Linked DNA regions of Homo sapiens: all the other regions are linked to region 1. The links are contacts of gene promoters, found by promoter capture Hi-C in blood cells and fetal thymus (Javierre and others, 2016). All regions are on one chromosome and are shown on one strand. The core of a region is centred on a gene start or on the middle of the fragment in contact, and the rest is flanking DNA. Distances in the headings are between cores, read along the strand shown. Region 1 holds the start of CEP76 (centrosomal protein 76). Region 2 overlaps PRELID3A (PRELI domain containing 3A). Region 3 overlaps SEH1L (SEH1 like nucleoporin).

Region 1 (5,044 bases), core at 1,366-3,865:
AAATGCTAAGGAATTAAACTGTCTTCAAGTAATACTATCCACATAAAGCTAAAAACAAATCCTTAATACCTTCAACAAGGTTAAACTTTCTGTAAACCTTATGTAACAGTTGGCTTATAATTCCACTATGAGCTGATTTTAATAAAGTGTCATCACAGAGTAGAAGCTGTTATTAGGTCAATTTTTATAACAAACGGGTTCATAAACTTCAAAAACCAAAAAAAGGTGCTGTATTAAAATACTTATTCCCTATTGTATTATGAAGTCCATCCAATTTTCACATTATATTACCCAGGTATTGAGGTCACAGTTTCCATTATTGCCTCACTTTCAAATGAAGGCCTACTTACTAATTGTGCACTGAGAGACTATCATCCCATTATTGACCTATTTGTATTAAAAGATTTGAGGACTCTTATGCAGTCAATTATTTTCTTAAAGAAATTTGTAATTTGTTAATCATAGAGAATATAATCCCAAAAGAGTGCTTATTTTAAAAATACGCTTAATCTAAAAAAGTTACAGATCATAATGAAAAAGAACTTTGTTATGGTGAACTAATTGGACTAAAGTATGTATATTCAAATTTACAGACCTAGAAAATAAGAGAAAATTCTGTCACTGTAGAGACAGGAATAAGATATCTAACACAAATTTCATTGATACACAAAACTATTCAGTATATTCAAGGGCAGAGCTAGCCTATACTTGAAACAAGGACACTAGTAAACAGAATGACCTTGAAGTGGTTTTACTAAAACGAAAGGCCCCACATCGGAACCTTATAAGTAGTGTTACGCATTAGTATATACATATATACTCTCATTTATTTCCCTAAAAGATTACTCACAGTAACAAAATTAAGTTCTTTCATCACATCGTCAATGATTCCTCGACGTCTAAGGGCTTTGATCAAATCTTCTGTTGATAAATGCTGTTGATCAGGTGCCAATTCTTCCCGTATAGTCTCAGCAAGGATTTCTCTTATTCTACCATGGACATCCATCTATGTAGAAAACTCATATTACAATTTATAACATCACAAAGCAGTCAAATACTGCTTCTGAAGTTTTAAGGTTCTCCAGCTAACAGTAAATGCACAATTGTTACCACAATTGAATGGGAACAAAGGTAAGCTTTTAAAGAATGAATCTTTTGAGTACAAATTCTAGAAATAGTCTCCACTGGTTATCTGGCACCTTTGTTACCATTTCTCCACAAACAACACTCAACCAAAAGGAATCTTCTGAGAGGGAGTATAGTATAATCAGAAGAACACGGACTGGGAGTAGGCAGATCAAAGTATGATCTTATTACTTTCATACTTTGATCTGCCTAATGATAAGGGAATCTTACCAGCTTTCAACTTAGTAGATGTGTAACCTCAAGCCAACTTATTTACCCTTTATAAATCTGTTTCGTCACCGATAAGAATGGAAAAACCTAGTGTAGTGCCCTCTCACGATAGTGTTGTGAGGATTAAAGATACTAGACAGCACAAAGCCTGGCACACAAGGGCACCATAAATGGTCGCTTTTATCACTTCAGCATCTTGCACTCAGTCGAGCGAGCGCTGCAGAAACTGGAGGTTCTTCTGGAGCTCCGAAATATTAACAAATTCCGTCATTACAAACCCTTTAGTAACTTCTCTTCCATGACTTATTTGAGAATTGCTGATTGAAGCTCCTGGTTCAACTTCGCTGATACCCACATGTTTCAGCGGTAAAGAAACCCTGATATCTGCCGGGCGCGGAGGCTCACGCCTGTAATCCCAGCACTTTAGGAGGCCGAGGCGGCCGGATCACGAAGTCAGGAGTTCGGGACCAGCCACACCAACATGGTGAAACCGTCTCTACTAAAAATACAAAAATTAGCCGAGCGTGGTGGCGCGCGCCTGTAATCCCAGCTACTCGGGAGGCTGAGGCGGAGAATCGCTTAAACCTGGGAGGCGGAGGTTGCAGTGAGCCGAGATCGTGCCACTGCACTCCAGCCTGGGCAACAGAGAGACTCCGTCTCAAGAAAGAAAAAAAACCTGATATCTTACAGCAGAATATAAACCTCCAAATACAACTTACACTCGATCCGACTTCCAGAAGTCGCTCGCTAAGCGCTTCATTCTCACGGCCGTCCTAAAACGCCAAGACCGCTCGTTCTATCGCCCCAGACTCTTGCTAGCACCTGCTCGGCTCGTTTTCTTTCTCGGAGACGAGGACGCTCTCCTGCCTCAAACTCAAAGCTCTGCCTACTCTGCGTTGCGCACCCCACAATCCTCGCTACAGTCCCGGCAAGCAGATGCCGCTGTCGGCCCGGGGCCGCCGGGCAGGAGGGAAAGGTTATGGGTCGGCCCGGCGGTCTCTCCCAGCACCCGCGACTCTCACCTTGCTCAGCTGCTGGTGGATGAGCTGCTTCAGCTCGGAGGCTTTCTCCGGAGGCAGCGACATGCTGGCAGCCGGCGTCTCCCCGCCGCTTCTCCCCGCCTCAGATGCCCTAACTGCGCGGCCCCGGCCGGGCCAGGGAGCGTTAGGAGCGACTGGAGCACAAAGCGCCGCAGCCGTTCGCCTAGCGCAGCTCCCGGGGGACGCAACGCCGCGTCAGGCCGGGGGCTGACCTGGAAATGAGGCCCCGGCGGCGGCGGCGCCAACTGTTTTCAAACAGTGGCGGACAAACAGGGCTTGGGGCTGGCCCGCACGCTGCCTGATCGTTTCCGCCCGCCGCTCCACCTCCCCGCGGGCCCCGCACCCCGAGACCTCAGCGCACCCCATCGCCTTGCTTGCCAGGGTCTCCGAAAGCGCTGCTGGCCCCTCTTCGCGGCCACCCGGCGGCCTCTTTCCGCCCTCTGAACCGGCAGTTAGCTGGACGGGCCTCAAGGGCCCGGCGCCCAGGGACTCAAAGGACCCTCCCGCGCCCCGCGAGGCTCCGGGGTCTCGGGCTTCCGCCTTCTTGCTGCCCTCGTTCTTGCCAGGGCCGCGGTTAGTCCCTGCTGGCCACCCCACTGCGACCATGTTCGTTCCCTGCGGGGAGTCGGCCCCCGACCTTGCCGGCTTCACCCTCCTAATGGTGAGTCTCCATTTGCGCTCGGGGCTGCCGCCTCCCGAGGCCCCTGCGGTGTCGCCACCCCGACGCGGGGTGTTTGGCGGTGCCTTGGGAGAAATAGGGCACTAGTTTCTATTTCATGTTTTCGGCCGGAAAAAACAGGGAGGTTGTAGCCGGAGGCAGCCGTCCAAACAGAACCTTTGTCGGCTGTAAAACCAAACGTAGTCAAGTCTACAATTTGTAGTCTCTGTTTCCTGTAAAACGTGATGTGTTCGTACGTTCTAGATACACTGTACTTATGTTTTGCAGGGCATCCTTCAGTTTTATCCTAGAAAGTCTTTCTACGACTAGTTTTAGAATTAGTCTTAAGCTAGCATATTATCGTTGTTAACCGGAGAACTACTGATAGGGCAATAAACATTAACTCTTGCCGGTAGTTAGCGCAGTTTTATCGCTCTTTATATTCATTCATTGTTTTAATAAAGTCTGTTATGTGCGAGTATTAGAATAAGACTAGGTGCGTGCCCTCAAAGAATTTACACTGTAGTTGGAAACATGTAATCTAAGAGCAATAAATGCTAGGCTAGAAGCTTGAAAGGGTATAGAAAGGTCCTGAGATAATTGGGAGGGGAGGGACAGATGGCTTGTTAAGAAAGGCTTTATAGAGAAAGTAGTATGCAAAAGATGGAGGGCCCGTGGGCTGGGAGTAGGGGAAAGTAGGCGTTTCAGAAAGATGGATGTCTAAAACAGAGTCAGTAAGCAGGGGGACTTGAAGACTGCCAAGAATTTGGAATGACACATTGAGAGAGAATAGGCTGTAGGCCCTGTGAACCCAGAAGGCACCATTGGAAAATGCACTGTTTGGAGTGGTATAAGGCTGGAGAGAGCTGGAAGTGTCATCCTTATTCATTACATATAAAACACACAGCCCCAGAGAAGAGTGTTTCAAAAAGGAGGGAGTGGCCATGTCAAAAGTAGCCCAGAGATGTGTAAGGTGAAGAAAGTGTATGTTTGGATTTAGCGACATGTTAATGATGGTCACCTGGACAAACAGTTACCAGTGAAGTGGTGAAGAGGAAAGCCATATTGGAGTGGGTTGAATGAATGATAGAAAACAAGTTAAAGATTTGGGTTGTATAATATATATTCAGTCATTAATTCAGAGACAGGCATGATGGCTCATGCCTGTAATCCCAGCACTTTAGAAGGCCGAGTACAGGAGGATCGCTTGAGCTCAGGAGTTCAAGACCAGCCTGGGCGACATAGTGATACCTCATCTCTACAAAAAAATAAATAAAAATTAGCCAGGTGTGGTTTCCTGCACCTGTATCTCAGCTACTCGGGAAGCTGAGGTGGGAGGATCACTTGAGCCCAGGAAGCAGAGGCTGCAGTGAGCTGAAATCGTGCCACTGCACTCCAGCCTGGGCGACAGAGTGAGACCCTGTCTCAAAAAACTTTTTTTTAATAAGAGATAAAGTTTCTGCTTATGTTTTCGTGGACGACTTGGAGAATTTTTGCTACATAGAGAAACAAGAAATGAGGTTGCAGTTAGAGGGCTATGTGGGGTCAAGGGAGAGCCTTTTAGAATGAAAGATATTAGAGCATGTTTACGTGCTGATGGGAATAATACAATATTGTGAGGAAAAGAAGGATGGTACAGAAGAGTTTAACCCAAGTAGCAAAATCGTTGAGAAGGGAATTGCAGGAGGTAACTAGGCAATTGGTAGGTGACAACAGTGAAAAGTGGGAGAACATGCTGAGGGAACACCCGAAGGACAGAAAACAAAAGGAGTTGTTGGAAGAATGCAAAGGAGGAGCTACATTAAAAGGATACTTGGGGGATAGCCTCAATAAAAATTAGGCATGTATTAGATGTAGTTGGTAAGGGAATGGGAAGAAGTTTAGGTAGATTGAATAATATTGAACTTTTTTTTTTTTTTGAGATGGAGTTTTGCTCTTTTTTGCCCAGTCTGGAGTGCAATGGCACGATCTTGGCTCACTGCAACCTCTG
Region 2 (5,044 bases), core at 1,511-4,010, 280 kb before region 1:
ATTCCTAGAGTGATCAGGACCACCCAGTCTTGGCTTCTTCATCCCTCTCTTCTCTTTATGTTAGCCAGTGGAATGCGTCAGCTTAGTGACACAATTGCATGGTTCAAAAAACTGAACATAAGTGTTCTATTGTTAAGAGAGGATTCCAGGCCAGGCCCTGACAATTTAGAGGCCACCGAATGTAATAGAACAGGTTAGGGAGCTGCGAGACCTGGTTCTCATCTGGGCCCTGCTGCTAACTTTCACCTAGGACAAGAGTGTTTGATGAGGGTAAAGTAAATTACTGATCACTCTGTTATATTGAAAATTGACCTCAAATATGGAAGAAAAAACTTCAGTATCCTCATAATCTTTCATATTTTATTTGGAAATTTCATTTCTACAACTTTATCCTAAGGAAGAATTAGATATGTTGAAAGACTAATGTACACAAATGTTCACTACTGTTATAATTTATCGTGTAAAAGTGAAAGCAATCTACATAACATAACCCACCATAGAGGACTGGTGAAATATACACAGCCACAAGATGACCTAGTGTACAGCTGTTTATAATCATATTCCTGAAAATGGCTTCATGATATAGGAAAATGTTTATCAGCAGTTATAAAAAATGGATGGTAAACCCATATATTGAGTGTAATCCCAGTTTAATTTTTCAAGATGTGTGTGCATGTGCATGTATGTGTGTCTGCATGCATATGTGCACACATGTGAATGTGATGGTGCATAGGTGTGTGCACACATCTGGGCTTGCCTCTGGGCTGTGTCTATACATATGCTGGACAAACCTCTCTGGGCACTTCTGAAGAAATGATGATCTTGTCAGAGAATGTTTGTCCTTGCAGGAGGCTCAGAGGCTTCCTGGGAGAGAGCACACCTTGAAGGAAGGGTGGATTAGGACAATTAGGGCAATAAAGTGACTTGCTAGCAACCCCTTAGCAGTCCGGGGGAAGGTCCATGCTGGACAGGTGTGGTGGCCCCTCACTTGGCTCCCTTCAGACGTGTGTCTGACCCTGCAGGTTTCAGGCCTAAACAAGTGCAGAGCTCTGGAAAGCAATGGGTGACTTGCAACCACTCTGATGGCAGGAAATAAAACAAGGGGAGGCTGAGTGCGGTGGCTCATGCCCATAATTCCAGCACTTTGGGAGGCCAAGGCAGGAGGATTGCTTGAGGCCATGAGTTCGACATCAACCTGGCAACATAATGAGACCTAAAAAAATTGTTAAAATAAAAAGTTGGGCTGGGCACGGTGGCTCACGCCTGTAATCCTAGCACTTTGGGACGCTGAGGCAGGCGGATCACGAGGTCAGCAGTTTGAGACAAGCCTGGCCAACATGGTGAAATCCCGTCTCTACTAAAGATACAAAAAAAAATTAGCTGGGTGTGGTGGCGGGCACCTGTAGTCCCAGCTACTAGGGAGGCTGAGGCAGGAAAATCGCTTGTACCCGGGTGGTGGAGGTTGCAGTGAGCCGAGACAGAGCCATTGCACTCCAGCCTGGGTGACAGAGCGAGACTCCATATCAAAAAAAAAAAAAAAAAAGTTGGCCAGGCGTGGTGGCTTATGCCTGTAATCCCAGCACTTTGGGAGGCTGAGGCAGGCGGATCACTTGAGGTCAGGAGTTCCAGACCAGCCTGGCCAACATGGGGAAATCCCATCTCTACTAAAAATACAAAAATTAGCCAGGTGTGGTGGTGGGTGCCTGTAATCCCAGCTACTAGAGAGGCTGAGGCAGAAGAATCACTTGAACCCGGGAGGCGGAGGTTGCAGTGAGCTGAGATCGTGCCACGGCACTCCAGCCTGGGTGATAGAGTGAGACCCCATCTCAAAAAAAAATTAATTAATTTAAAAAGTTAGGCCGGGCGTGGTGGCTCACGCCTGTAATCTCAGCACTTTGGGAGGCCGAGGCGGGCAGATCACGAGGTCAGGAGATCGAGAGCACGGTGAAACCCCCTCTCTACTAAAAAATAGAAAACAATTAGCCAGGCATGGTGGGGGGCGCCTGTAGCCCCAGCTGCTCCGGAGGCTGGGGCAGGAGAATGGCGGGAACCCGGGAGGCGGAGCTTGCAGTGAGCTGAGATCGCGCCACTGCACTCCGGCCTGGGTGACAGAGCAAGACTCCGTCTCAAACAAAAAAGTCATTCAGGTTTGGTGGCACACGCCTGTAGTCCCAGCTACTGGAGGTGGGGCAAGAGGAGGCTGAGGCAGGATGTTCACTTGAGCCTGGGAGGTTTGAGTCTGCAGTGACCCTGATGGCACCACTGCATTCCTGCCTGCTGGGCGACAGAGTGAGACCCTGTCTCAGACAAACAAAAACCAAGGGGCTGCCAGGTGCCGAGGCGTGCAGGTGCTGAGCCGGCGGCCGGGGAGGGCTCGCGGGACTCCTCAGATTTGTCGGACCAGCCTTTCATTAAAGTGAAGAGACTAGCGCGTTGCCCAGGCCTGGCGGCGGCTTTTCCTCCCCTTCACCCTTGCGGCCCCGGCCCCGGCGCTTGCTCACCGCCGCCTATGCTCTCCCCGCAGCCACCCGTGGGACACGGTCATCCAGGCGGCCATGCGCAAGTACCCGAACCCGATGAACCCGAGCGTGCTGGGCGTGGATGTGCTACAGCGCCGCGTGGACGGCCGCGGCCGCCTGCACAGCTTGCGCCTGCTCAGCACCGAGTGGGGGCTGCCCAGCCTCGTGAGAGCGGTGAGCGGGGCGGGGGCTGCGGCTCCGAACGCGCCCGACTCCCCCACTCCCGCCCCCGCCCTCTCCCGCGTCCCTCCTCCCCTCATCAGTGCCTCTGCTGCTTTGGCTGCCATCGGGGTGGGAGGGCGGCGGGGGGCCTTTCCTGAGATCAGGGGGCGCGGGGTGGGGGTGGCGGTGGGGGGAACTTCCCCGAGATCAGGGGGCACGGGCTGGGGGGCTGGTGGGAGGGTTTTCCTCGAGATCGGGGGGCGTGGGGTGGGGGGTCGGTGGGGGGGGATCTTCCTCGAGATCGGGGGTCACGGGGTGGGGGGACGGTGGGGGGGTCTTCCTCGAGATCGGGGGTCGCGGGAGGCTCTGCCTGGCGCGTGGCGTCTGGCATCCCCATCTGTCCTCCCAAAGGGCCCGGGCCTGCTGGATTAGCACTGCCAGGCGCCCCTCCTCCTGGTTTAACCGCCTCTAAAGCCCAGCGTCCGCAGCCAGCCGCATCCTAGGGCACCGGGATTAGGCTTCACCATGGTTCAGCCCCCCGTGGCCTCTTCCTCAGAGCCAGGGAGGTCGCTGGAAATGCAAATCTGAGCACGGCTCACCCCAACCCGGCCCCTGGATCTCGCCTCCACCTGCAGTCCACACCCTGGCCTGGCGCAGGCCTCTCAGTCAGCCCAGCTCCTGCTGCAGGGGCCTGCACCTGCTGCCCCCAGCCTGACACCCCCACCCCAGCACTATGGTGGTACCTTCCTCTTTGGGGCTCTGCCCAGACTCCGCCCGGCAGAGGGGCCTCCTAGCTCCACTGCCCGCAGCCTGTTTTATTTTGCCGGGAGCATAGTGCTGCTGCACGCTCCACTCTGTTGGAATTCATTTCTTTGCTCAGTGGCTCACCTGCTGGAGCGGAAGCGCCCTGGACACAGGGGTTTTGTCTCTGTCCCTTGCTGCATCCCATGATATCATTTCTTGAATAGTGAACTAATTAGTAAATGCAATGGTATTCGGTGGTGATATGAAGTAGAATTTTTAACGTTCCACTATGCTAGTTTTGCTTTGTTTTCTAGATTTTGGGAACCAGTAGGACATTGACATACATCCGAGAACATTCTGTGGTGGATCCAGTGGAAAAGAAAATGGAACTTTGTTCTACCAATGTAAGCAATGGCCTCAGATGAGAAACGGGCTCAGTGTGTCTGGGTGGTGGTGCGTAAGGCCTTCGTTTAATTCTATTTCCAGCCCACCTTTGGTCTAGGTGTTGCTTATTTTTAACAGAAAGGCTGAATTCATTTAGCAGTTTATCTTTTTATTCAAGTATAATAAGTATATAGAAAAATGCACATAATGATGAATTGTCACAAAGAACGCACCTCTTAACTAGCAGGCAGTTCAAGCAACAGAATTTGACCAGCCCCTGAGACCCCTTGGGCACCCCCCACAGGATAACCACTGTCCTGACAACCAGCAGACGTTTTTGTTTTTTTAAAGATGGGGTCTTGCCCTGTCACCCGGGCTGGAGTGCAGTGGTGTGGTCATAGCTCAGTGCAGCCTCGCACTCCTGGGCTCAAGTGATCCTCCTGCCTCAGCTTCCCAAATAGCTGGGACCACAGGCACGTGCCACCATCCCTGGCTGTTTTTTTATTTTTATTTTTCACAGAGATAGGATCTCGCTGTTGCCAAGGCTGATCTCAAACTCCTGGTCTCAAGTGATGCCTTTCAACGTGCTTTTTTTTTTTTTTTTTTAATTTTTGAGACAGTCTCTCTCTCTCACCTAGGCTGGAGTGCAGTGGATCTCAGCACCCTGCAACCTCCACTTCATGGGTTCAAGCGATTCTCCTGTCTCACCCTCCCAAGTAGCTGGGACTACAGGTGTGTACCACCAACAGGCATTTTTTTTTTTTTTTGAGATGGAGTCTCACCCTGTCGCCCAGGCTGGAGTGCAGTGGCGTGATCTCGGCTCACTGCAACCTCCGCCCCCTGGTTTCAAGCCATTCTCCTGCCTCAGCCTCCTGAGTAGCTAGGATTACAGCCGCGTGCCACTACACCTGGCTAATTTTTGTATTTTTAGTAAACAGGAGGTTTCACCATGTTGGTCAGGCTGGTCTCAAACTCCTGACCTCGTGATCCACCCGCCTCAGCCTCCCAAAGTACTGGGATTATGGGTGTGAGCCACCGCACCTGGCCCCAACAGGTATTTTTAAAGCTACTTCCCCCCTTCACTCCTCTCTCACTTCTCTCAATTAAAAAATGTATATTGGCCTAATGCAAATGCAAGAACATGTTGGGAAATATGCATGGGCTAGCAAAATTATTTATTTCAAAAAATAATCCTTATTTTCAGCAAATATAGAAATGGGCTATGGTGGGTGAAG
Region 3 (5,044 bases), core at 1,162-3,661, 270 kb after region 1:
CATTTAATTTTTTAAAATGTTATTTCTTTATTCATTTACAGAATTATGTGTCATTCATCATATGTTTGCTGATTTACTATAATATACCAAGTTCTGTGCTAGGCTGTGATAGCACAGGCATGAGTGATAAAGAGGAGAAAGTAGACCAGCCTGGCCAATATGGTGAAACCCCGTCTCTACTAAAAGTACAAAAAATTAGCTGGGTGTGGTGGCAGGTGCCTGTAATCCCAGCTACTCGGGAGGCTGAGGCAGGAGAATCGCTTGAACCCAGGAGGCGGAGGTTGCAGTGAGCTGAGATTGCGCTATTGCACTCCAGGCTGGGCAACAAGAGCGAAACCCTGCCTCAAAAAAAAAAAGAGGAGAAGGTAATTGATCTCCCAGTATGATGTACCATCTTGCAGTGAAACAAAAAATAATAGTAAAAAAGGGTGATGAATCTTATGAAGTGGAAGAATTAGGGTGCTAAAGAGCTTATACCTGGGGAACCTAATCTGGTTTAGGGGCTAGGAAGGTTCACCTAGAAGATGACCTATAGGGTGAGTAGAAGTTAGCCAGACAAAGAGGGCAGAAGCACTCCTGGTGGAGAAAACTGCATGTGGTAAGGCCGTGAGCAAGAGAGAGGGAGTATATTTATACTGTTGTTGGAACATGCTGGGCAAAAATGAGTGTGGAGAGAAATAGGCAAGACTTGTATCTATAAGAAGTAATGTCCATTGTTTCAGTTTTATCTTACAGGTGATGTGAATAGGGAATAATGGGATCAGATGGATCTTCTATAGGTGTGACAAGTGTTTTGGAGGGAAACATGGTGGATTCACGGCTAGGATGCTATGAAGACAGTCCAGGTGGGAGAGTACGTGGCTTTGGGATAGTAGTAGCAGTGGCATGGAGATAAGTGGACAACTTGAGAATAATTGAGAAGTGGTATCAATAGGATCTGGTGATTGATTGGATTTGAGAACTGAACTGAGGAAGAAGGGGGAAGGTGTTAAGATGATTTCCAAGGTTCTGGCTTAAGAGTTCAGTGTGTAATTTCAATGTGTGTAATTTCTTGAGATAAGGAACTCTGGGAACAAGGCAGATTTGGGTAGAGTGTGGCAGCATGTGAAGGTAAGTTAATTTTGGTCATGCCGAGATACAAGTGTCTGCAAAGCTTCTGAGAGCCAAAAGCAGTGTCTCAGAGGCACACTACTCAGTCTTACAGGAGAAGAGAGCACTTGTCAGGTGATCAGATGGGCTTCGCAGGTACTAGACAAAATTCTTGAGTCTAATAGTCAGATCTTAGGCAGGGCCAGCAGTAGAGAAGGAACTAGTGTTACTCCCGTGGGCTCTGCAATTCCAAATGTTACCATCTGGGTTACCAAGGGGATCTTACACCTTCTACCTTCCTAGATTGTTGGTGTCTGCAGAGAGGCTCAGTCTTCAACAGTGCTGTCCAGTAGAATGTGCTGCAGTGATGGGAAATGGTCTTAGAGATTTTCATGGAGTTTTAAGCTGTAAAAACTATGAGCCCTATTAATAGCACATTTTATAGAGGCTTCATGAAGTGTTGGGCTTGTTAAAGTAAATTTCAACCTGAGCTGAGCAGAATGAATATGTAGACATAAGCCCAAAAACGTAAAAGGTGTATCATTGGCCACGCGAGGTGACTTATGCCTGCCATCTCAGCACTTTGGGAGGCTGAGGTGGGTGGATCACTTGAGTCTAGGAATTCAAGACCAGCCTGGACAACATGGTGAAACCCTTTCGCTACAAAAAGTACAAAAATTAGCTGTGGGGATGATGGCGCATGCCTGTAGTTCCAGCTACTTGGGAGACTGAGGTGGGATGATCACCTGAGCCTGGGAGGTCGAGGCTGCGGTAAATCAAAATTGCACCACTTCACTCCAGCAGTGTCAAAAAAAGATTTTTTTCTAAAACATAGGAAAAGAAAATATTTCATAAGTAAGATTTGAGTAAAAAGATAAATAACTTGCAGTTAGTTCTGAAAGAAAATACAGGCAAATAGAAATTACCTATTTTTTTTTTTTTTGAGAGTCTCACTCTGTCACCCAAGCTGGAGTGCAGTGATGCAATCTCAGCTCACTGCAACCTCTACCTCCCGAGTTCAAGTGATTCTCCTGCCTTAGCCTCCTGAATAGCTGGGATTACAAGTGCGTGCCACCACGCCTGGCTAATTTTTGTATTTTTAGTAGAGACGGGGTTTCACCATGTTGGCCAGGCTTGTCTTGAACTCCTGACCTCAGGTGATCCACCCACCTCGGCCTCCCAAAGTGCTGGGATTACAGGTGTGAGCCACCACGGCCGGCCTAGAAATTACCTAAGTATTTCTAAATTACCTAAATAATCCAATGTTAAAAATAATCTGAGATTGCATTTGAGTCTAGTCTCTTAGCTAACAGAATAAATCTAGACTGGGGGATTCCCTGTATTATGTCATGTGACAAGGAGCCTGAGGGTGGAGCAGTTCTGGGGTTAGGTAGTGACTCAGTTGCTCAATGATGACATCAAGGACCTACCTAAATATTTTCCACTTTTTTCTTGCTGTCATGCTTAGTACACTGGTGATAGCTCCCTCTTATGATCACAAAAGAGCTGCACAATGTCAGGTTTTACATGCTAATACAAAGAAGGGTATTCTAGAAAAAAACACCTTTCCTAGAAGTATCTTAGCAGGCTTCTTATCAGGTGCTGGCGGCTGGAGTTTGGTCATCCAGCCATGCCTTAGCTGCAAGAGAGTGAGACAGCAAGTGTCTGGCATTTTCAGCATCAAAAACGAGGGGAAGTGGTGTTGGGGAAAGAGTGTCTGCAGGTGGGGGTGTGTGCTATTGACTTGGGAAGTAATCAAACCTATTAAGTTCAGCACTTTTTGGAGTTCTGTTGCTGGTTCTTTGAGGTAAGCATTGTTTGAAGGTTCTTATTTAGATTGAACGTGGAGGAGATGTGATAGTGGACTATGTAGTATCGTTATTAATACCTGTTTATCTTTTTCTCTCTTTTTTTTTCTTTGAGATGGAGTCTCACTCTGTTTCCAGGCTAGAGTGCAGTGGCGCAACCTTGGCTCGCTTCAACCTTTGCCTCCCGGGTTCAAGCGATTCTCCTGCCTCAGCCTCCCCGGTAGCTGGGACTACAGGCACCCGCCACCATGCCCAGCTAACTTTTGTATTTTTAGTAGAGATGGGGTTTCACCATTTTGGCCAGGATGGTCTCCATCTCTTGATCTTGTGATCCGCCCACCTCAGCCTTCCAAAGTGCTGGGATTACAGGTGTGAGCCACCACGCCCGGCCTGTTTATCTTTTTCTAAGTAGTATCACCATTTAGTAGACAGGAGACATTTGCCAAATTAACCAGTGTTGGATATATTTGTTTTTATTTGTGAGTGAAAATACTAAAACAGATCTAGGATTGATAGTGATAATAGAAGTGCCATGTGTTTATATAGGTTACCGGGCATTTTTATGTGTGTTATGAAGTTTGAATCCTACCAACCACCTTGTAAGTAGAGGAGACAGCTTTTATTAACACTGTTTTACAAATGAGAAAACTGAGACCAACAGAGTGAATGACTAGTCTAAGGTCCAGAGTCAGGACCAGAAACAAAGTCTTTTTTGTTCATTCTCTTTATTTACACTCTCATTGAGGATCTTATTTGGCTCCTTCTGATAGGAGAAGCTTTAGATAACCTTAATTATTTTTATTTTTATTTTATTTTTTTTTTTGAGATGAAGTTTCACTCTTGTTGCCCAGGTTGGAGTGCAATGGTGTGATCTCGGCTCACCGTAACCTCCGCCCCCTGGGTTCAAGAAGTTCTCCTGCCTCAGCCTCCCAAGTAGCTGGGATCACAGGCATGTGCCACCACACCCAGCTAATTTTGTAGTTTTAGTAGAGATGGGGTTTCTCCATGTTGGTCAGGCTGGTCTCGAACTGTCGACCTCAGGTGATCTGCCTGCTTCGGCCTCCCAAAGTGTTGGGATTACAGGCGTGAGCCACCGTGCCCAGCCACCTTAATTAATTACAATATATAGCTTGCCTCAGGTAAGAAAAAAAAAATCTCACTTTTTCAACATTTCATAAGCAGCATGGACTGTACTAAGAGCTGAAGGAGCTTACAGCGCCTAGGATATGGATGAGGATGGTCACCTGCTAGAGATGGCAGCACATACCTGCCTGGTAGGGTGAGAAGTTTCAGCTGATGATGTTTGAGCATGAATCTTGAAAGACAGAGGGTGTTCTGCAAGCAGAGAGGAGGCAGGAGCAAAGACAAGGGCGTGGGGTCGAGGCGGTGGGTGGGGAGGCTAATGCAGGAGAGAGACAGGGGAGGGGCAGGCCAACAGGCCAGGCAGATTTTGGAGAGTGGTGCTTGCCAAGTCTGATCTCTATCCTGGCAGCATTTGGACTTTTGCAGGGTCCAGTAGAGTCACAAGGTTGTATTTACCTTTTAGGGAGATGACTTTGGCAGCTGTGTGGACTGGGAGCAGGAACTCAGGGATGAATGCAGTAGCCCACTATGATGTGGAATGAGGACATGCACTGTGGCGTGGGATGAAGAGGGACCGGGGAGACTTGTCTAGGAGGCACCAGCTGTAGGTCACGTGAGTCTTGGTTTCTGACCTAGCTGATGGTAGTGCCACTTGTTGAGATGGGGACTGAGCAAAGAGGAGTGAATGTGGTAAGCACAATTTATTTCAGACATATGTTTGAGGTGCGTTTGGAACATCCAGGTGGGGATGTGTAAAGGCAGATGGATAGAATAGCTGAGATTAGTTGTCTATTGCTGCATGACAGCATTATCACTCAGTGGCTGAAACAGTACAGATTCGGTATTTCAATGTCTGTGGGTCAAGAGTCAGGCCAGACTGGGAAAGACTCCACTTCGGAGCTCACCTGGTTGTTGGCAGCACTCGTGTTCCTGCCACGAGACCCTCCCTTGTGTCCTCACAGCATGGCAGCTGCTTCTGCAAGGCCTGAAAGCAGGAGAGTCTTCTCATGAGGCAGGCGTCACAGGCTTGTGTGTTGTAGTCACACGGGTGTTGTCCCACCACC

Evidence for each region. The method cuts DNA at HindIII sites, captures the fragments that hold promoters and counts their contacts. A CHiCAGO score of 5 or more calls a contact.
Region 2: a fragment that was not itself captured here is called in contact with the fragment with the promoter of CEP76 in region 1 in 8 of 17 cell types (endothelial precursors, M0 macrophages, M1 macrophages and 5 more); the score reaches 7.9 in endothelial precursors.
Region 3: a fragment that was not itself captured here is called in contact with the fragment with the promoter of CEP76 in region 1 in 10 of 17 cell types (total CD8 T cells, neutrophils, erythroblasts and 7 more); the score reaches 8.2 in total CD8 T cells.

What each region holds. Positions count from the first base shown.
Region 1 is chr18:12,700,108-12,705,151 of GRCh38, forward strand. CEP76 (centrosomal protein 76) reads right to left here and starts at 2,616. Exons shown (of 12, transcript NM_024899.4): 1 at 2,379-2,616; 2 at 851-1,006. The coding sequence starts at 2,441. It overlaps PSMG2 (proteasome assembly chaperone 2), which reads left to right and starts at 2,935. Exons shown (of 7, transcript NM_020232.5): 1 at 2,935-3,057. The coding sequence starts at 3,001. RefSeq lists enhancers at 1,761-2,658, 1,944-2,243, 2,254-2,303. The HindIII fragment of the contact is 2,487 bases long and covers 1,135-3,621 here.
Region 2 is chr18:12,417,801-12,422,844 of GRCh38, forward strand. It overlaps PRELID3A (PRELI domain containing 3A), which reads left to right. Exons shown (of 7, transcript NM_001142405.2): 2 at 2,525-2,693; 3 at 3,740-3,829. Among named protein-coding and RNA genes, the nearest start is that of PRELID3A, 12 kb to the left of the region's middle. RefSeq lists a silencer at 2,684-2,833. The HindIII fragment of the contact is 6,008 bases long and covers 1-5,044 here.
Region 3 is chr18:12,971,290-12,976,333 of GRCh38, forward strand. The region is part of intron 5 of SEH1L (SEH1 like nucleoporin); the gene reads left to right. Among named protein-coding and RNA genes, the nearest start is that of CEP192, 18 kb to the right of the region's middle. The HindIII fragment of the contact is 2,520 bases long and covers 1,152-3,671 here.